Linked DNA regions of Homo sapiens: regions 1, 2, 3, 4 and 5 are each linked to region 6. The links are contacts of gene promoters, found by promoter capture Hi-C in human tissues and cell types (Jung and others, 2019). All regions are on one chromosome and are shown on one strand. The core of a region is centred on a gene start or on the middle of the fragment in contact, and the rest is flanking DNA. Distances in the headings are between cores, read along the strand shown.

Evidence for each region. Contacts are between HindIII fragments. The study calls those that stand out against the background at their distance.
Region 1: a fragment that was not itself captured here is called in contact with the fragment with the promoter of LTBP3 in region 6 in 1 of the 25 tissues and cell types used here (pancreas).
Region 2: a contact is called between a fragment that was not itself captured here and the fragment with the promoter of LTBP3 in region 6, in 1 of the 25 tissues and cell types used here (dorsolateral prefrontal cortex).
Region 3: a contact is called between the fragment with the promoter of SART1 here and the fragment with the promoter of LTBP3 in region 6, in 2 of the 25 tissues and cell types used here (bladder and spleen).
Region 4: a contact is called between the fragment with the promoter of SNX32 here and the fragment with the promoter of LTBP3 in region 6, in 3 of the 25 tissues and cell types used here (dorsolateral prefrontal cortex, hippocampus and lymphoblastoid cells).
Region 5: a contact is called between the fragment with the promoter of FIBP here and the fragment with the promoter of LTBP3 in region 6, in 1 of the 25 tissues and cell types used here (dorsolateral prefrontal cortex).

The regions. Positions count from the first base shown.
Region 1 is chr11:65,163,150-65,166,377 of GRCh38, reverse strand. No RefSeq gene overlaps it. Among named protein-coding and RNA genes, the nearest start is that of SPDYC, 5.5 kb to the left of the region's middle. The HindIII fragment of the contact is 5,816 bases long and covers 1-3,228 here.
Region 2 is chr11:65,098,579-65,101,715 of GRCh38, reverse strand. The region is part of intron 2 of VPS51 (VPS51 subunit of GARP complex); the gene reads right to left. Among named protein-coding and RNA genes, the nearest start is that of VPS51, 3.9 kb to the right of the region's middle. The HindIII fragment of the contact is 4,540 bases long and covers 1-3,137 here.
Region 3 is chr11:65,959,769-65,963,150 of GRCh38, reverse strand. It overlaps SART1 (spliceosome associated factor 1, recruiter of U4/U6.U5 tri-snRNP), which reads right to left and starts at 1,417. Exons shown (of 20, transcript NM_005146.5): 1 at 1,058-1,417. The coding sequence starts at 1,370. TSGA10IP (testis specific 10 interacting protein) reads right to left here. Exons shown (of 8, transcript NM_152762.3): 8 at 3,185-3,334. The coding sequence ends at 3,211. RefSeq lists an enhancer at 772-1,559. The HindIII fragment of the contact is 22,503 bases long and covers 1-3,382 here.
Region 4 is chr11:65,832,134-65,835,796 of GRCh38, reverse strand. It overlaps SNX32 (sorting nexin 32), which reads right to left and starts at 1,834. Exons shown (of 13, transcript NM_152760.3): 1 at 1,696-1,834. The coding sequence starts at 1,731. It overlaps LOC124902693, which reads left to right and starts at 1,998. Exons shown (of 7, transcript XM_047427980.1): 1 at 1,998-3,663. The coding sequence starts at 2,286. RefSeq lists an enhancer at 1,753-1,842 and silencers at 1,767-1,979, 2,153-2,282. The HindIII fragment of the contact is 13,089 bases long and covers 1-3,663 here.
Region 5 is chr11:65,886,925-65,890,440 of GRCh38, reverse strand. It overlaps FIBP (FGF1 intracellular binding protein), which reads left to right and starts at 1,970. Exons shown (of 10, transcript NM_004214.5): 1 at 1,970-2,107; 2 at 2,309-2,507; 3 at 2,715-2,841. The coding sequence starts at 2,023. RefSeq lists a silencer at 1,740-1,879 and an enhancer at 2,000-2,069. The HindIII fragment of the contact is 8,273 bases long and covers 1-3,516 here.
Region 6 is chr11:65,556,460-65,559,924 of GRCh38, reverse strand. LTBP3 (latent transforming growth factor beta binding protein 3) reads left to right here and starts at 1,566. Exons shown (of 28, transcript NM_001130144.3): 1 at 1,566-2,296. The coding sequence starts at 1,966. RefSeq lists silencers at 1,288-1,447, 1,498-1,737. The HindIII fragment of the contact is 15,125 bases long and covers 1-3,465 here.

The DNA.
Region 1 (3,228 bases), core at 207-2,706, 390 kb after region 6:
AAAAGAAAGAAAGAAAATATTGTCTGTCAAAGTTGGAGGACACAACTAGTAATTCTTAGAGAGGAATTTATGACCTCAAACGCGCGTGTTAGAAAATAAGAAAAGCTGTCACGCTGATGAACTGAACTCCATCTTAAAAAGTCACAAGCCAGCCAGGGGGACTTCCGGGTCCTGAGGCCCAAGGGGCTGCCTGGGTCCCCATCCGCCAACTTTTGCTGTCCACACAGCCCCAGACAACAAGAAAGGAAAAATAAAACGCTGCCAAAACCACAGCGTCGGCATAACTTGAAAGCAGAGAAGGTCCAAACTTCAAGATAAATGTAAATAAAAAGAAAGCGACCATATCCCCGCACGCCGTCGTGCGCTGCGGCCTCTCCCAGGCACGAGGCTTTGTGCCAAGAAAAGCTGGGGAAGGAGGGGAGAAAGGAGTATCGATCCGGGCTGGGGTTGGTCGAGAGCAACTATCAGAAAGACTGCGACATTCTAAAATCTGAAAATACCAAGAAGACGTCCTGGGAAGTCAGAGCTCAGACCTCAGGGAAGGGGCTTACAAGTATGTGCGATAGGAAGGGGAGGTCGTTAAAGTCCACTGATTCCGCGGGAGGGGTAAAAAAAAAAAAAAAAGGGCTAAAATGGGCCAGAAGCATCCGTGGGCAATTGAGTAAGTGAAGTGGGAAAATGCAGAAGGGAGAAATTGAGGGTCCGAAGAGAACCAAGCAATGGGAGAACACAAAACCCTACCCACCCCCACACCGAAACAAACAAATAAAAAGCTTCTAAACCATCTGAACTTTGCTATATTGACCTAACAGTGTGCTATTGAGCTAGGAATCTTGTAAACCATCCAATACCACAAAAACGAATAGAAAGAAGATGAATAGATCCGTATGGAGCTGATATTTTAAAAAATCTGAAAACAAAATAACACACACCAACCAAGAAAAATTCCCCTGGAAAAAAAAAAAACCACGTTTCCAAAGAAACAAAATATTTACAAAAAATGATCATATCTTAGGTCACAAAGAAATCATCAGTACCTTAAAAAAAGTAGAAATATACAAACAATATTCTCTGAGCACAGTGTAATAAAATGAGACATCATTATTATTATTATTTTTGAGACGGAGTCTCTCTCTGTCGCCAGGCTGGAGTGCAGTGGTGCAATCTCGGCTCACTGCAACATCAGCCTCCGGGATTCAAGTGATCCTCCTGCCTCAGCCTCCCGAGTAGCTGGGACTACAGGTGGGCCCCACCACACCCAGCTAATATTTTATATTTTTAGTAGAGATGGGGTTTCACCATGTTGGCCAGGATGGTCTCGATCTGTTGACCTTGTGATCCACCTGCCTCAGCCTCCCAAAGTGCTGGCTTACAGGTGTGAGCCACCATGCCCGGTGAAAATTATTATTATTAACAAAGACAAACACAGCCTGGCACAGTGGCTCACACCTGCAATCCCAGCACTTTGAGATGCCAAGATGGGAGAATTGCTTGAGCCCAGAAGTTCAAGACCAGCCTAGGCAACATAGAGAGATCCTGTCTCTATAAAACAAAACAAAACACACACACACACACACACACACACACACACACACACACACACACACACCAAAAAACCTAGCTGGGCATGGTGGATCACTTGAGCCTGAGAGGCAGAGGTTGCAGTGAGCCATGTTCGGGACACTGCACTCCAGCCTGGACAACAGAGCAAGAATCTGTCTTGGAAAAAAAAAAAAGACAAACCACTAGTTACCTTGTTTCAGGGGGAAAAAAGGGAGAAAGACAAATATAACAAATATATGACAAAGGGGAGGGAACCATAGGAATAAGATATTTTAAAAAATTTAAATACACCACCAATTTCCAAAATGGTGGTGTAAGGAGCTCAGCAGACCCATTCCCCAACAAAACAACCATTTAACTAGAAAAATTTATTTATTTATTTACTTTTGAGACGCAGTCTCACTCTGTCTCCAGGCTGGAGTGCAGTGGCGTGATCTCGGCTCACTGCAACATCCGACTCGTGGGTTCAAGTGATTCTCCTGCCTCAGCCTCCCGAGTGGCTGGGATTACAGGCACGCGCCACCACATCCAGCTAATTTTTCTATTTTTTTAGTAGAGACAGGGTTTCACCATACTGGCCAGGCTAGTCTCGAACTCCCGACCTCGTGATCCGCCTGCCTCGGCCTTCCAAAGTGCTGGGATTACAGATGTGAGCCACCCCGCACCCGGCCAGAAAAATTTATTTTAAGAACCCAATCATTTCAAATCTGTAAATTATCCTAAAGGCACATACAGCAAATGGGGAAGCATATTCTCTGACTGAACATGAGCAAAAACATAAACTCACTGAAGTGCAGTAGCCAGTCTGCAGGCCACACACGTATCTACTAGTAAAGATAAAAATCTGGAACTTAAGCACAAACTTTGACCAATAAGTGGTTTATGGTCATTTTGACCATAAGTGAGTTGTGCTGACCGGGGGTGACCCCTAGAGAGCCAAGCTAAAAGATTTTTTTTTTTTTTTGAGACAAGGTATTGCTATATCACCCAGGCTGGAGTGCAATGGCATGATTATAGCTCTCTGCTACCTTGAACTCTTAGGCTCAAGCTATCCTCCTGCTTCAACCCCAGAAATGCTGGGATTACAAGCATGAGCCACCAGGCCCAGTTGTTAGATTTTTTTAAAAGAAAAAAAATCAGAAAACAGACATTCCAGGCTACACACTGCAAGGAAAATACACTTCACAAAGTTAATTCAGTCAAGTCACTAAACCAAAAAAGAAATGGCCAACCAAACAGTAACAACATTGACTCCTAAGAGAGGGCTGGCATCCAGAGTTTCTACAGTGTATTATCTAAAATGTACATTTTGGCCCAGAGTGGTGGCTCTCGCCTGTAATCCCAGCACTTTGAGAGGCCAAGGCGGGGGCAGATCACCTAAGGTCAGGAGTTTGAGACCAGCCTGGCCAATATAGTGAAACCCTGTCTCTACTAAAAATACAACAATTAGCTGGGCGTGGTGGTGCACGCCTGTAATCCCAGCTACTTGGGAGGCTGAGGCAGGAGAATCCCTTGACCCCGGGAGGCAGAGGTTGCAGTGAGCCAAGATCATGCCACAGCACTGTAGCCTGGCGACAGAGAGACTCGCTGTCTCAAAAAACAAACAAACAAAAAAAGTACATTGTAATAAAAACATTAGATTCATTTAAGTATATTTCTAAATGC
Region 2 (3,137 bases), core at 567-3,066, 460 kb after region 6:
TCTTGGCTTACTGCAACCTCTGCCTCCCAGGTACAAGCCTTCCACCTCAGCTTCCTGAGCAGCTCGGACTACAGGGACACAACACCACACCCAGCTAATTTTTGTATTTTTTGTAGAGACAGGTATAACCTGTTGGCCAGGATGGTCTCGAACTCCTGAGCTCAAGCAATCTGCCTGCCTCTGCCTCACAAAGTGTTGGGATTATAGGTATGAGCCATAATCCCACCTGGGCTCTGTTAATTTTCAGTGAAATGTACTGTCAAAGACTGCTTTGTCTTTGCCTAGAGAAAAGAATTAGGAGAGGCTTTTCCCTGTATAATGTTTGAGATCTTTCTAATTTTGACACAAGTAAATGCATTATTACATAATGAAACTCAATGTCTAGGTGAGAGGTTGGCAAACTACAGCCTGCAGGCCAAATCTGGCTCAATGCCTGGTTTTCTTTTTAATTGGGATATAATTGACATACCAATTCAGTGGTTTTTAATATGTTTAATATATTCACAAGGTTGTACAACCAACCTCACTACGTAATTCCAGAACATTTCATCATCCCCTAAAGAAACCCTGTAACCCTTGGCAGTCATTCCTTATTCCCCCACTCCTAGAACTTGGCAACCATTAATCTAGTTTCTGTCTCTATGGATTTGTCTATTCGCTACAGAATACATTTAACAGAAATGGAATCATAGGCATATGAAACATTAGCATGTTTCCAAGGTTAATCTATGTTGTAGCCTGTGTCAGTATGTTATATCTATTTTTATGGCTGAATAATATTCCACTGTGTGGATATTTGTTTATATTCATTCAATTGATGGCCATTTGGATTGCTTCCACCTTGTGGCTATTATAAAAAGTGCTGCTATTGGCCAGGCATGGTGGCTCTTGCCTGTAATCCCAGTACTTTGGGAAGCCGAGGCAAGCGGATCACTTGAGGTCAGGAGTTCAAGACCAGCCTGGCCAACAAGGTGGAATCCCGTCTCTAGTAAATATACAAAAAATAAAAATAAAAAAATTAGGCGGGTGTGATGGTGCACACCTATAATCCCAGCTACTCAGGAGGCTGAGGCAGGAGAATCGCTTGAACTGGGGAGGCGGAGGTTACAGTGAGCCAAGATGGCACCACTGCACTCTAGCCTGGGTGACAGAGCTAGACTCCATCTCAAAAAAAAAAAAAAAAAAAAAAACACTGCTATGAACACTTGTGTACATGTTTTTATGTGAACATGTTTTCAATTCTCTTTGGTATATTCCTAGGAGTAAAATTGCCGATCATATGGTAATCTTGTGTGTGGTTTTGAAGAATGGTCAAACTGTCTTCCACACTGGGTGCAGCATTTTGTGGTTTGGATTTGCATTTCCCTAAGACCTAATGATGCTGAGCATATTTATATGTGCTTTTCGGCCACTTGTATGTTTTCTCTGGAGAAGTGTCTATTCAAATCCTTTGCCCATTTTAAATTAGGGTTATTTGTCTTTTTAGCCCTGAGCTAAAAAACGTTCTTTTTATGTTCTGAACACTAGATTTTTATTAGATAACTAACTTGCAAATATTTTCTCCCATTCTGTGGGCTGTCCTTTTATTATTATTTATTATTATTATTATTTTTGAGACGGAGTCTCGCTCTGTTGCCCAGGCTGGAGTGCAGTGGCGCGATCTCGACTCACTGCAACCTCCGCCTCCTGGGTTCAAGCGATTCTCCTGCCTCAGCCTCCTGAGTAGCTGGGACTACAGATGCCTGCCACCATGCCTGACTAATTTTTGTATTTTTAGTAGAGATGGGGTTTCACCATATTGGCCAGCCTGGTCTCAAATGCCTGACCTCAGATGATCCACCCGTCTCGGCCTCTCAGAGTGCTAAGATTATAGGCATAAGCCACCGCACCTGGCCTTTTTATTTATTTATTTATTTTTTGAGACTAGGTCTTGCTCTGTCACCCAGGCTAGAGTGCAATGGTGAGATTATAGCTCACTGCAATCTCCAGCTCCTGGGCTCATGTGATCCACCCACCTTAGCCTCCCCAAGTAGCTGGGTTTATTCTAACAAGTGTGTGCCACCATACCCAGCTATTTTTTTTTTTCTAGATATCGGGTCTCACTATGTTGCACAGGCTGGTCTCAAACTCCTGGGCTCAAGTGATCCTCCCACCTCAGCCTTCCAAAGTGCAGGGATTACAGGCATGAGCCACTGTGCTCAGCCCCATCCATTCCTGCCAGTGCAGCTGGAGGAATCTATTCAAACCAGAAATCTGAGCACATCACTCATTTGTTTTAGCTCTCTGTGGATAAAAGCCAAATCCCTAATACATTCTGGAAGGTTTCTAGTTAAACTGCACATCTACTATCTGCCTGGCTCTGCCCACATTCTGCTTCCCCTCCTGCTACCATAGATGAGCTCCCGGCCCTTTGCTGAGGCCGATGCCTCCATCCCTGCTCTGTTCCACCCCCCTCCTTCCTGAGGACCTAGTTCCTTTCTCATTTTTCTCTCTCTCTTGCCCAATCAACACACACTCCATGCTACATTACTTTCCTGAGTGTCTCGCCCAAGTCTATCAAATCTATGTCTTGAAACACCTTCCTCACGCAACCTCCACCTCCTGGGTTCAAGCAATTCTCCTGCCTCAGCCTCATGAGTAGCTTGGACTACAGGCATGCACCACCTTGCCCAGCTAATTTTTGTATTTTTAGTAGAGACAGGGTTTCACCATGTTGGCCAGGCTGGTCTTGAACTCCTAGCCTCAAGTGATCCACCCACCTCAGCCTCCCAAAGTGCTGGGATCACGGGTGAGAACCCCATGCCCGGCCCCTCACTTAAGCTTCTAAGACATCAATGCTCCTGGTTATCCTCACACTTTTCCAAACGTTTGTTCCTTTTGTGGGATGTACAAAAAGAGCTAAGTCTCAAAATATTATTATACACATTCCAACAAATGGAAAATGTAATCTTATTAAATTCCTGTGAGAAATATCCCAGCACAGAAACTATGATTTCTTGCCATTTTGATGCTGGTATTAGCTAACAGAAAGGTGCCTACTCATGGAATCTGCTTCAAATCAGATAAAAGAACAATGTGTATAGGTTACCACACCCACCACTGTGACACGAGAGTAAGACATCAGAATGCAACCCCAC
Region 3 (3,382 bases), core at 168-2,667, 400 kb before region 6:
CTCAGGTTCTAGTCCTGACCCCCTCTTCTCATGTCACAGTCTTTCAGGGGCTTCACTGGCCACCCAGATACTGACTCCCAATGGCTTTATCCAGTCCAAACTCTGGATTTCCCCATTACCATCAACCTTGACAACCCCAAAAGTGAACTATCTCCCCCCACCCCCGCTCCAAATCTGCTTCTCTTCCCTACTCCTCAATTTCAGTAGAAATGACACCCACTACCTATCTGGCTGCTCAAGCCAAAATTCAAGGAGTCATCCTCCATTCCTTCTTCCCACCCTCATACAAGTGCTGAGTTCTGTTCATTCCTCCTCCAAAACACCTCTCCAACCTGTCCACTTCTCTCAATCCCACTGCTGCTGCCTTGGTGCAGGCCACCATCAGCCCTCCCCTGGCCTATAGCCCTCCTGGTTTCCTGGTCTCCAGTCCTGACTACCTTTGACTAAATTCTCAATCCAGTGATGTTTACAAAATACGGATCTGAGCAACTCACTCCTCAACTCACATCCATGGCTCCCTACTATCCTCAAGACAATCTACAGTTCTTAACAGAGACTACAGTACAGGGTCCTTTGTGTTCACATCCCTGTCTATCTTACTCCCTCATTTCTCTACCATGCGCCCTACACGATTCGTCCAATACCAGGTTTTTCTTGCCTCTGTATATGCTGACACTACTTCATTCACTCATTCAACATATTTATTGAGAATCTGATTGTACCAGACAACTGAGGAAAACAGAAGCCCTCTGTCCTCAAGCAGCTGAGTGGAGAAAGTCAACCTCTAATCCTAAACAACCGTAGAAAGACTTTTTTCTTTTTGAGACAGAGTCTCGCTTTGTTGCCCAGGCTGGAGTACACTGGCGGGACCGCAGCTCACTGCAGCCTCTAACTCCTGGGCTCAAGGGATCCCGTAGAAAGACTATTTAATAGAGCTGGTAAACAGCTTGGGGGTTTCCTGGCCTGAAGAGCTTCGCTGACACTGCGCGCACACCCAGACCCACGCGTTCCGGGACCCCCGCCCGACCCGCCCCCTGCGCAGGCCCCGCCTCCTCACCGGCCTCGTAGCCGTCATCGCGCTTCTCCCGCTTCACGCGCCGCTCGGAGGGCTCTGCCTGGCTGCGCTCCCGCCCGTGCGTGCTGCTCCGGGCCTCAGCTTCGGCCCCGCGCCGCCCGCTCCCGCGCTCGCCCCCACGTTCCCGGCTCCGCTTCCGTCGTTCGCCACCGCTACCGCCACTGCCGCCACTCCGGTGCTTGTGTTTTTTGTGTTCCCGGTGCCGCGGCGGCTGCTCGGTGGCACCCCCGGTGCCGGCCGCCGCCGTCGTCCCGGCCGCCTCCTTCTCTCCGCGATGCTTCTTGGACGACCCCATAGTGGCACGTCCACTCCGAGCCCGGCTGCCGCCGAGCCCAGACAACGCAAAATGGGAATACTTCCGGGTCGCTCGGCAGCCGCTGTCGTGTTGCCGGAAACTAAGAGCGGCTGCTTCCGTCGCTCGCCTTGGAGCCTGCCCCAGAGGCTCATGGGAAGGCCGGGATCAGCGCTCGACTGCACATTCGCGCCGTCTCGGGTCGGGTGGGTTCTTTGAGCGAGTGGTCCCATTGCGCATGCGCTCCTCAAGGGAAGCGGAATTAACCCGGAGGTGGGATCCCAGAACTGGAAGGACTTAGAGCCCATTAAGTCAGTGTCTTCGTGGCTTTAAGTTCCTCCCCGGCCTCCCTGCGCTTGCACTTCACCGGCAACGGGGTGTTCACTACCTCACGGTCTTTCCGTAGACACCTCCCTCCTACAATGGGCGCTCGCTTAGTGGACTCCTAGGGTCGTGGCTCCAACGGGTGTTGTTTTCCCGAGATCTCCAATTCCACAGCCCAGCTTCAGACCCGCTATAACCAGTATCGTCAGGGAACGCTTCCTTCCCACGTTCCCTGTTTTGTTTTGTTTTGTTTTTTCCCTTGAGATAGGATCTCACTCTGTTGCTCAGGCTGGAGTGCAGTGGCGTGATCACAGCGCACTGCAGCCTCGACCTCCTGGGCTCAAGTGATCCTCCCACCTCAGCCTTCCCAGTAGCTGGGACTACGAGAGTACGCTACCACGCCCCTTTAATTTTTGTATTTTTTTGTAGATGGTTGGTGGGGAGCGGGGGTAGGGGGTGGGGTCACTATGTTGGCCAGGCTGGTCTCGAACTCCTGAGCTCAGGCTATACACCCGCCTTGGCCTCCCAAAGTGCTGAGATTACAGGCATGCGCCACTGCGCCTGGCCCTGGATTGGATTTTTAAAACCTGGCCCCGTGAACTGTTAAGATTGTTTAGGAGCTCCACATGGGCGTCAGTGTATCCCTGGAACCCCTGAAATTGAATGCAAAATGTGGCACATCTGTGTGTATGAGTTTTTTTCTTGAGGAGACCAGCCCTAACTTAAAACTATTGGGACTTAAAACCCCAGTGCAGGCCGGGCGCGGTGGCTCACGCCTGTAATCCCAGCACTTTGGGAGGCCAAGGCAGGCGAATCACGAGGTCAAGAGATCGAGACCATCCTGGCCTACATGGTAAAACCCCGTCTCTACTAAAAATACAAAAATTAGCTGGGTGTGGTGGCGCACACCTGTAGTCCCAGCTACTCAGGAGGCTGAGGCAGGAGAATCGCTTGAACCTGGGAGGCAGAGGTTGCAGTGAGTTGAGATCACACCATTGCACTCCGGCCTGGTGACAGAGCGAGACTCTGTCTTAAAAAAAAAAAAAAAAAGCGCAGTGCACACAATCCCAATCTCTCCTGAAACCCCTCCCCTCACCCAGTGGTTGCTCAGTCTGTGGCTCCCTGTGTGGCACAACTCAGCATGTGTTAGGCTATGTTGTATGCGCCCCTTTAAGGATCCACCCCCTCTCCCACTCACTGGGCGTCCTCAGAGGCAGGAGTCATTTCATCTTATTCATGCTTGAATTTATAGGACCCAACATATACATTGGAGATGGGGTGGAGAAGTCACAGCTCTTGCTCTTTGAGATGTCCCCACTCCTCAGGAGCAGAGAAGGGGCTGTGTGTACTGGGTGGGGGGAACCAAAAGAGCCAAAGCTCCTGGTGGGGAGGGGGTGCGGGGACAGAGCTAAGCCTGCTGCCCACCCACCTGCCACCTCCAACTTCCAACCCGTAGCTTCCACCACCCCCACCACCAGAAATCTCATACTGTGTTTGCCATAAAGCCTTTAATTTTATCTCAGGGACTGCACTCCGGGTCCAGGCTGGGGTTGTAGTGCCTGTCAGGCTGGCTGCCGGTGGGTTCTGTCCTTGGGGGCCTCTGAGGAGAGTGCTCCATTCTCACCCCCATTGACCTGTGGCTCCTTCAAGACACAGATAGAGGCCCCTGACTCTGCAGCTCCCACCCCCAT
Region 4 (3,663 bases), core at 585-3,084, 280 kb before region 6:
CTCCCAAGGCAGGCTCTCCCCTTGCCCCAGACCCCAAACACATGCAGTCTGGCTAACTGGTGCAGCAGGTCCCCTAGTCCCCAGCCTCTTTCCTCCTGCCTTAGTATCTCTACTCTGACCTACACTGCTTGGTAGCTGCTTGAGGGAGATGGGCCTCAAAGGTGGACCACAGCTGCTCCATCCTCATCCTCAGCCACGGCCCACTATGCATATGCCTCCATCTCCCAAAAGGGTGCACCTCTCCATGCTCTAACCATCCTTGGCACAACGTGGATGCTCGACAACTCTTTGCTGAAGGAAGTCAAAAGGAAGAAATGGTCTTATCATTACATGAACTCAGAACACAAGTGAAGCCATTAGGGCTGAACAGGATTCTCTCGCCTTGGGAAAGGAGAAGAGGATGCCAGCCTCTGCTCAATCCCTAACATCCTGCCCTCCTCCCCGCCCTCACCTCCCACCCCCTACCCACCTACCCCCATCAAGACAGCCTGAGTTGGTCTTGGGGAGGGTAAGAGTGACAGTGACGGGTCCCTTTCCATCTGTAAGGACAAAGGCAAAACCCTGCCTCCCTTGGCATCCTCATCAGTCCGCACACAGGTGCCACAGAGGCTCCCCACTCCCTTGCTCAAGTCTCCTTTCTCTCACTTGCGCAGACACACACATACACACAGAGACACATGGGCACATACACACACACAGACACACGAGACAAACACAGACACACGCACACACAGACACACATAGAAACACACACAGATACACAGACACACACAAACACACAGGCACAGAGAAACACACACACAGACACACACAACGACATACACAGATCATACACAGGCACACAGACACACACAGATGCACACACAGACACACTGACATAGACACACACAGATATACAAAGACACACGGATACAGACACACACAGACACATGCAAACACACACACAGACCCAGAAATACACAGACACACACACACAGACACACGCAGACCATACACACACACAGAGACACACACACACAGACATAAAGATGCACGCAGACCATACATAGACACAGAGACAGACACACACTCAGACACAAAGAGACACAGACCTGCGCAGACACACACAGGCACATGCGTGCACACACAGATACACACAGAGACACACACAGATGCATACATGCACACATGCAGACCATACACACAGACAGACACAGACACAAAGACACACGCAGACCATACACAGACACAGACACACAGACACACACACACAGACATGCACAGACACACACAGAGACAGACACAGACATGCACGCACAAACACCCACATGGACGCATACGTGCACACACACAGACACACACAGGCCATACACACACACACAGAGACACGGAGACACACAGACACACACACAGATACACAGAGACACACAAAGACACAGACACACACTGAGACACACACAGACACACAGACACACAGAGACACAAATACAGACATACACAGATACACACACACACAGACATATGCAGGCACATCGACATACACACAGACACACAGAGAAACAGACACATGCAGACTATACACACACAGACACACACAGAAACACACAGAGGCAGACCACACACACACAGACACACACACACCACCGCATGATTGGGCATCACGGGCTTTCATGGAGTGAGGGGAGGCTGGGGTGGGGGTCTTCATCCTTTCTCTACCTTGCCCTCCTTCCCAACCTCCGCATACGTCTCCATCGCTCTCCTGGGCTTCAGCGTCCGGCCACTGCCCGCGTGCTCCCGCAGGTCGTCCCCGTAACTCGCCCGAGGAACTGACCGAGTGAGGATGCTCTCAGCTGACGGGGACGCTCTCCCCCGCCCGGCCAAGGAGTCGCCTGGAGTCGGGGGCGGTTCCCACCGCGTTTCCCTCAGCCACGCCTTTCGATTGGGTAGCGGGGCACCGCGCGTGACGCCATTGGCTGCATTGTCTGTCGTTCCTGTCCCAGGCCCCAGCTTTTAAGGGACACGCGGCACGGAGAGTGGGCCGGTGATAGGCGACAGTGTGGGAGCTGGGGTCAGAGTTCATAGGGTCGCAGAGGCCGCGTGCCGCGTCTCCCTCCAGTCCCCGGGGGACTGACCCCCACAACAACCCCGTGCCGCCGTTCCGGGCCCCTCCTTCCAACGGCCACGTGCGGCCTGCGCGTGCGCACTCGCCCAGTTTGGCGCCCACCAGGCAGTGGGGAAGGGGAAGGGGAAGGGGAAGAGGGTGAGGGTGGCAGGGTGGGGACAGGGAATGGGAAGCAGTGGTGGGGATGTGGGTGGTGGACCAGGGGCGAGGGCAGGGGACAATGTCTGTGGAGAAGGGGGGTCTGTTTAGGTTTCCGCTCTTGGACGGGAGGGAGCGGCGGGGTAAGCAGCCTAGGAGGACTAGGGAGCTCCACAAGTCCCGCGGCCAGGGCGCCCCAAGCGAGGCCGGGGTCCGCGAACGGTCGCCACTGGAGCGGGGCTGCAAGGGGGTGCCGATGCTGCGAGAGAAAACCTGGGGACCTTGGAACGGGCTCATGGTAATTGGGAAGAGAGTGGAGCTCCTGACTAGAAACACTCGAAAGCCGAAGCTGGAGTCTGAGTACTGGAGACTGGAAGATGTGGAAAAGACGGTCTTGAAAGGGAAGTCAGGCCCGAGTCAGGAAAGGATGGATGTGAAGCTGCTATACCGTGGAGCAAGTGCATCACAAGCTTCAGCAGATTTGGGGAAAGACAGCCCAAGGGGTATTTGGGGAAAGCAAGAGGTCAAACACGAAATAAAGGCTAAATCTAAGAGTGCAGGGATGACAGCAGGGCCTATGAAGGGGTCTGGGTTTGAAGAGAGGTTGAGGTCTGCTGGGGAGAAGGTAGGGACCAGTGGAGAGGACTTGAGATCCAATGGATATAAACTGGGACAGGATGAGAAGGGGTTGAGGTCTAGTGTAGACAAGATGAGATCAAGTGTAGAGAAGCTGAGGTCTACTAGTGAGAAGCTGGTGTGCAGGGGAGAGAAGCAGGGGTCCAGTGGAGTGAAGCTGAGGTCCAGTGGCAGAAAGCTGAGATCAAGTGGAGAGAATTTGAGATCAAGTAGAGAGAAGCTGAGATGGAGTGGAGAGAAGCTGGGAACTAGTGGAGAGAAGCTGGGAACCAGTGATGAGAAGCTGAGGTTGAGTGGAGAGATGCTGAGATCAATCAGAGAGAAGCTGAGGTTGAGTGGAGAGAAGCTGGGAACCAGTGATGAGAAGCTGAGGTTGAGTGGAGAGAAGCTGAGGTTGAGTGGAGAGAAGCTGAGATCAAGCAGAGAGAAGCTGAGGTTGAGTGGAGAGAAGCTGGGAACCAGTGATGAGAAGCTGAGGTTGAGTGGAGAGAAGCTAAGATCAAGCAGAGAGAAGCTGAGGTTGAGTGGAGAGAAGCTAAGATCAAGCAGAGAGAAGCTGAGATTGAGTGGAGAGAAGCTGGGAACAAGTGATGAGAAGCTGAGGTTGAGTGGAGAGAAGCTGAGATCAAGCAGAGAGAAGCTGGGAACCAGTGGAGAGAAGCTGAGATCAAGCAGAGAGAAGCTGAGGTTGAGTGGAGAGAAGCTGGGGTCAAGTGCGGAGAAGCTGAGATCTAGTGAGGAGAAGTTAGGGACCAGCGGGGAGAAATTGGAGGGTTCAAGAATGGGGA
Region 5 (3,516 bases), core at 721-3,220, 330 kb before region 6:
CGAAACTAGGAGCTTCGAACCTCCAAGTACCGGATCGCCCCAAGCTTGAGCCTAGGCCTCTCGGCTCTTCTGAGAAACAAGATTCAGGCGTCCGCCCCTGACTCCTGCCCATCCCCCACAGAAGTCAGATGGACCGCTCTCCAGTCCCTCTTTACCTTTGATCAAATTCGGAAGTCTCGGCCCACTAAGGATCGCTCCTGGTTCCTCGGAACCCTGAGTCCAAACGTCCTAGCTCACCAATAGACTACCCTCCCTCCCAGGGAGCGTTTCCTGCCTGGGGGGAGGAACATACAGGATTCGTTTGTTCAATAAACGTTTTTTATGTGCAAGGCCCATGCAGAAATAAATTTAACCAAAATACCGATTCCATCCTCAAGGAGGTCGCAGTCTGTCCGGGAAGTCAAGCTGTGTTAAGCAAGAAATAAATCCGGGAGGAGTATGGTCTGAGGGTCCTTAAGAGGGTTCCCAAAAGAGATGCTATCCAAGAGGCTCTGGTAGATCCATAGGACTTTGCCAAGTAAAGAGCTATTTCAGGGAGAGAGAATAACATAGTGAAAGACACTGGTGCCCGAAAGAGCCTAGCTGCTTTAGGAACAATGAGGATAGCTTGGTTTTTGAAAAGCAGATGTGTCGAGAAAATGCTAAGAGAGAGAGAGCGAGGCTTCAAAGGTAGGTAAAAGCCAGATTCTTAAGAACTTCCAGTACCAGGTTGGAGCATTTCCAAAGGCCACTAAGGATGTTAAGCAAGAGAGTAACATTTGTAAGGATGTTAAGCAAGGGAGTAACATTTTAAAATATGCCTTTAACTGGCCAAGATGGTGAAACCCCGTTTCTACTAAAAATACAAAAATTAGCCGGGCGTGGTGGGAGGAGCCTGTAATCTCAGCTACTCGGGAGGCTGAGGCAGAGAACTGCTTGAACCCGGGAGGCGGAGGTTGCAGTGAGCCGAGATCGCGCCACTGCACTCCAGCCTGGGCGACAGAGCGAGACGCTGTCTCGAAAAAAAAAATGTATTTAAAAAGATTGGGCTGATCTGTGTGGGCCGGACCCTGCGGGGAGGGGACATAAACAGGGAGATTAGTAACGGTGTCAAAGAGCAAGAGCAAGGAGAGCTAAGCAGAAAGACGGCTGGGGCAGCATCAGTGGGGGTGGAGAGGACAAACAGATACTAGAAATATTCGGGAGGCAAATCAGCCGAACTGAATGTGGGGAGAGAGGAGTCTGGAAGAACGCCCAGGTTTCTCGTATGAGAACTGGTGGATGTTAGGGCTGTCACTGAGATAGGGACGCAGGAAAGAAACAAATGGGGAGAGGCAGAGGTCTGTCTAGAATATGTTGAGCTTTTGAGGGGCTTACGGGAAGAGTGTGGATAGACTTGGCCGATAGGCGGCCCCTCCGGATGTGGACTTCCAGGCAGAGCTCGGAGGGGCAGAATTAGAGACGTCAGTAGCTCGTGGGGCTGGGGGTGGGATTAAAACCAAGGTGGGAGCAGGTGCCCCAAACCCAGGAGAGGTGCTCATGCGCAGGATGGACAAACCAGTCTCCAGCAAGAGCCCGAGGAAGTCGGGTCATACCCCATTTTTGCGGAGATTTAGGATAGAGCCCTGTGAAACCCCTAAGTTTAGGATACAGGTCAAACTTAGGAGGTCCCGAAGAGGGCAGAGAAGGTGGGAGAAAAGCCAGGAGGAAGTGAGGGGAGAAGTTACGGGGACCGAGGAGACGAAGAGGAGGCACTCCCTTCGTGCTCCTGCAGACGGCCGGGGAGGGAGACAGGACGCAGGAGCCCGGGACTCCCCCTCCCGGCGGGAGGAAGCGGTGCTCCTCCGCGCAGGCCTCCCCCTCTCTTCCCTCGCCGCTCCCGCCCCGTCCCCTCCCCGACTGGCTGTGTCCCGGAAGTGGTCATAAGCTGGGTCCCGATGCCGCGAGCGGAATCTCGGCGCTCCCGGAAGTGGCCTGAAGGCGGCGCGCCAGTCCCGAGCAGTGCTCGCTCCTGCTCGGGGCGCTGCGGCCCCGGGCGTCGCCATGACCAGTGAGCTGGACATCTTCGTGGGGAACACGACCCTTATCGACGAGGACGTGTATCGCCTCTGGCTCGATGGTTACTCGGGTCCGTGAGGGGCGTGTGGGGAAGCCAGTCGGCGGAGCGGTTGTGTTGAATGGGAGAGGGGGCGGGGCTAAGACTTGGGCATCCTTTAGGGAAGTGGGCGAGCGCCTGGGAATAAGAGGTGTTATAGGGGTCTGGGATGGAAACCCTTAAGGGCCTCTGGCGTCGGCGGGGCGGGGCCTGATGCTAGCGTCCGCTTTCCAGTGACCGACGCGGTGGCCCTGCGGGTGCGCTCGGGAATCCTGGAGCAGACTGGCGCCACGGCAGCGGTGCTGCAGAGCGACACCATGGACCATTACCGCACCTTCCACATGCTCGAGCGGCTGCTGCATGCGCCGCCCAAGCTACTGCACCAGCTCATCTTCCAGATTCCGCCCTCCCGGCAGGCACTACTCATCGAGAGGTGCTCACCCTCTGGGATGGTGGAGACATCAACCAGTCTGACTGTATACCCATTTTGCCGGCTGAAACAGGCCCAGGGAGGGATGGGATTTACCCAGCCATCAGAAAGTTGAGAGTGGAAGGGGTCAGACCTAGGCCCTGCTAGGCCCCGCCAGACTCCCTTTCCTGTCTTTTATGGAGGGTCAATGGTGTTCTCTGACTCCACAAGGTACTATGCCTTTGATGAGGCCTTTGTTCGGGAGGTGCTGGGCAAGAAGCTGTCCAAAGGCACCAAGAAAGACCTGGATGACATCAGCACCAAAACAGGCATCACCCTCAAGAGCTGCCGGAGACAGGTATGCACTGCATCCACACGGACACAGCATCCCATCTACACTTCACTCCCTCCCTTTGGCCACTGGCCCAGTTCCAGCCTCTGATTGTGGCAGCAGCTTCATACCTAGTCTTCTCCTCCCTTCCCCTTTCCCCTCCTTTTTTTTTTTTTTTTTCGAGATGGAGTCTTGCTCTGTGGCCCAAGCTGGAGTGCAGTGGCGCGACCTCAGCTCACTGCAACCTCCGCCTCCTGGGTTCAGGTAATTCTTGTGCCTCAGCCTCTGCAGTAGCTGAGATTACAGGCGCCCGCTCCCACACCCAGCTAATTTTTGTATTGTTAGTAGAGACAGGGTTTCACCATGTTGGCCAGGCTTGTCTTGAACTCCTGGCCTCAAGTGATCATCCGCCTCGGCCTCCCAAAGTGCTGACATTACAGGCGTGAGCCACCGTGCCTGGCTCCCTGTTGTGCCTTCCAAGCTATCCTGTACTGTATGGCCAGAGTGACCTTTCAGAATGACCTGAAATTTTATCAGACCCCTGATAAACTTTCATTGGCTCCCACTGCCTCCTGGGTAGCAGCTGCACTCCTTGGCTTTGACCTATGGACTGTCCTGTTATCTCATCCCTGCAGACCTCTCTAGGCTTACATTTCTCCAGCCCCAGGCTTTCCTTTACTCATGTTGCTTCTACCTGGAGGG
Region 6 (3,465 bases), core at 317-2,816:
AGTAGTTGAACATAGATGTTGAGTGAATAGATACCCATCTCACAAGCAAGGAAACTGGGGCTTAGAGACAGTAAGAATCCAACCCTGGACTGTTTGACTGTGCTGTGCTCCATGGTGAGCCACAGCCAGCTCTAGGCAGAGTCAGGACAGGTTCAGATGAGTGTTAGGAAAAAATGAGTATACAATGCTCAGCCCTGTGCCTGGCAGGTGGTCGGCACCTAGCATTATTCCCTGCCTCCGTGTGGACCAGGGCCCCAAGAAGCAGGGGCTTGCCCCTCACACCCCATCCTGGATTCCGGCAGCAGGGATCCCTGGGGACATGTGATTGTCCCTCCCAGCCCTGCACCGCTTAGTAAGGGGGACTTACTAAGCGTCCCCCTAAAGCTACCCACATCAACTTACGCTCAAAGTAAAAACAGAGTTCCTTGGACAGGTGTGCCTGAAAGTGAGTCCCTGAACCTCCTCTCCCCAATTAGACTGCTGCCCCGGGTGCTGTCCGGGAGAGGGTCTGGTGCCGCCCTGACTTGGCAGCGCTTTTCCTGGATGTGCCCTAGCCGTCCCCACCTCCTGCTGAGTTCTGTGAGTCAGAGACGGAACCCTGGGGTCTCCTGGCAGGCCCCACAGTAAGGCCTGGGCCCCCGCACGTTGCAGCCTTTCCTTCCAGACCAGCGGACAAGCCTGGTCTGGAACTATGCTCCTCTCCAGCCATGGCCAACCTGAAGACCCCCACCCCCAGCCGCTGCCAGCCCCTGCCCTGGGGCTCTGCTGTGCCCCTCTCCAGCCCCTGGGCCCTCGGACAGCGCCCCCGTCCTCCCGGCTGTTAGCCTGGGAAGGGGGCCAGGCCCTGAGCTCAGACCTTGGCGATTCCAGAGTGTCTGAGGCCCAGAGCCAGCCCCGCCAGCACGGCCAGACGAAAGGAAAGGGGGGAGGTGGCAGGGTGGGCACCAGGAAGCCATTCCGAGGGGGCTGGCAGGGAAGCTGGGTTCTAGCTTTGTTCTTTCTGCTCCTCTTCTGGACCCCACAGACTTCCTCCTGGGACCTCCGTGAGCCCTGGCCAAAGGCTGTCCCCACCCTTTAGCCCTTTCCTCAGAGGGGATTGGACCAGCACTAACGAGAAGTTACTTTGGGGCCCTGAGACCCCCACGTTTGCAAGGGAGGCTGGGAAAGAGCTGGAAGGCCTGGGCTCCGGCTCCACCCGGCCTCCATCGTCAGTGTGACCCGGCAGGGCCACCTCTCTCCCTCAGCCTCGGTATCTCGCTCTACGCAGGCCTCCCCGCCCCGCCCCGCCCGGAGGAATCCGCGGCCGGCCAGACGGTCCCAGGTGAGGGCCCTCTGGAAAGGGCCCAGCGCGGCCGCGGGTTCCGGCGGGGGCGGGCATCTGGGGTGGGGACTGTCCCCGCGCCACCCCCCAGCCTCCGCCAGCCTGCACACCCTCGCTTCTCCAGGCGGCAGAGGCGACGCTTTAAACAACAAAAAAAAAAAAACTGTGTCCCTGGCCCGGGGCCAGCGTCCCAGCCCCCCTCGCCGCCGCCGCGCCGCGCTCCAGCCAGGGAAAACAACTGCTCACTTCTCCCTGAGCCCTCCCCGCGCGCTCCCTGCCTCCCCGCGGCCGCGGGAGAGGAGCCCGGCCAGGGGGAGGCGCGGAGCGGGCCGGCCGCCCGGCCTTCCTCTCCCTCGCTCCTCCTCTCCGCCTCAACTTGCTCCGGCCTCCTCGCTCCTGCCTGAGTTCGGGGCCTGGTCTGGGCTTCGTCCTGGGGCTGGGAAGTTTCTGCGCTCCCCGCTGTCCAGTCTGCATCTCCGCGCCTCCCGCCGGGCCCCCGCGGTCCCCTCCCGCCCGCTTCCCCCGCTGCCCTCCCTCGCTGCCCCCTACCCTCTCCCGGGGCTCCCGGCCCTCTACTCCCTTCGGGCGCGGGCCCCTCGCCCCGCCCGGGCGCGCCCCCCCTCCCCCGGGTCCTGCGGCCCCGGATGCCCGGGCCCCGAGGGGCTGCTGGCGGCCTGGCCCCTGAGATGCGCGGGGCGGGGGCGGCGGGGCTGCTGGCGCTGCTGCTGCTGCTGCTGCTGCTGCTGCTGGGCCTGGGCGGCAGGGTCGAGGGGGGGCCGGCCGGCGAGCGGGGCGCAGGCGGGGGCGGGGCGCTGGCCCGCGAGCGCTTCAAGGTGGTCTTTGCGCCGGTGATCTGCAAGCGGACCTGTCTCAAGGGCCAGTGTCGGGACAGTTGTCAGCAGGGCTCCAACATGACGCTCATCGGAGAGAACGGCCACAGCACAGACACGCTCACGGGCTCCGGCTTCCGCGTGGGTGAGGGCCGGGGGCACGGCTGGGGGCAGGGGAAGGACAGGCACCAGGCCCGGTGGGAGAGCTAGTGGGGTCTTGGCCTTAGAGACTGGGGGCTGAGGGTATAAAGGGCAGAGATCCGAGGGCCTGGGGGACCAGGGGCCTCAGGGAACTTGGGAGGCTGGAACTCTGGGGGCCAGAGTTGGAGGGCTGCATGGAGGCCTGGACTTTGAAGCTTTGCGTTAGGGTTGGGGCCTAAGGGGTGGGGAAATGCAGAGGTCCTGGATGACACTGGCTTCCCAGAAGGTGCTGAGTTCTGAGCAGGAGCACACAGGGTTTTTGAGGAATGTGAGCCGGGGACAGGAAGCCTCAGAGAAGGGCTAAATATTCCCGCAAGAAGCAGACTTGCTGGAAGAAACAAGAAAAGTCTTTACAAAATGTCTAAAGTAGGGCCTGCCAGAGTAGACACCTGCATTCCCTGGGAGGAGGAGCTAAGGTCAGGGCTGGGGATGGGAGCCGGCTACTGGCAAGGTCTGAGTAGGGAGGGTGTTGAGGCCTAAAAGTAGGGTGCAGGCCTGAAGGTAGGGACTAGTTCGGGGTTCTCAGCCTCTCCTTTTCCAATGCCTCCCCATAAGCTCCTAACATCCTGCCTCAGAGGCCCTCAGGGCCCCCCTCATCCTCCCCCAAGCCCCTACACCCTCCCCAGTTCAGCTTGGAGTCCACCCCCTCCCCAGCATCTCTCTTTAAAGGGCCAGGCCTGGGGCTCAGTCATCCTCCTGCTAGGCCCCGTGGGCCAGGCTCGGGGAGGTGTCCCAGCAGTAATTACCCTCCTGGACAGGGTAATTAGGCCAGGCCCAGGATGGCACCAGCAAAACAGCCCCTCTTACACATTCCTATATTCACTCTCCCACTCACAGAGCTAAGGAACCCCACTCATGTGGCTCAAATTTGTCATGAGATGGGGTGTGCGTGCGTGTGTCTGTGCGCATATTGCCCCTGTGTCTGGGGTCATGCCATGGGCATGGCGTGGCACACTGTGAAGTACCCGTCTTTGTGTTGTCTTGGGTGTGTGTCTCTAGTCGCTGTTAGAGAGTATGTGGGAATGTTTTTGTTTTTGTGTTTTTGAGATGGAGTTTTGCTCTTGTTACCCAGGCTGGAGTGCAATGGCGCAATCTCAGCTCACTGCAACCTCC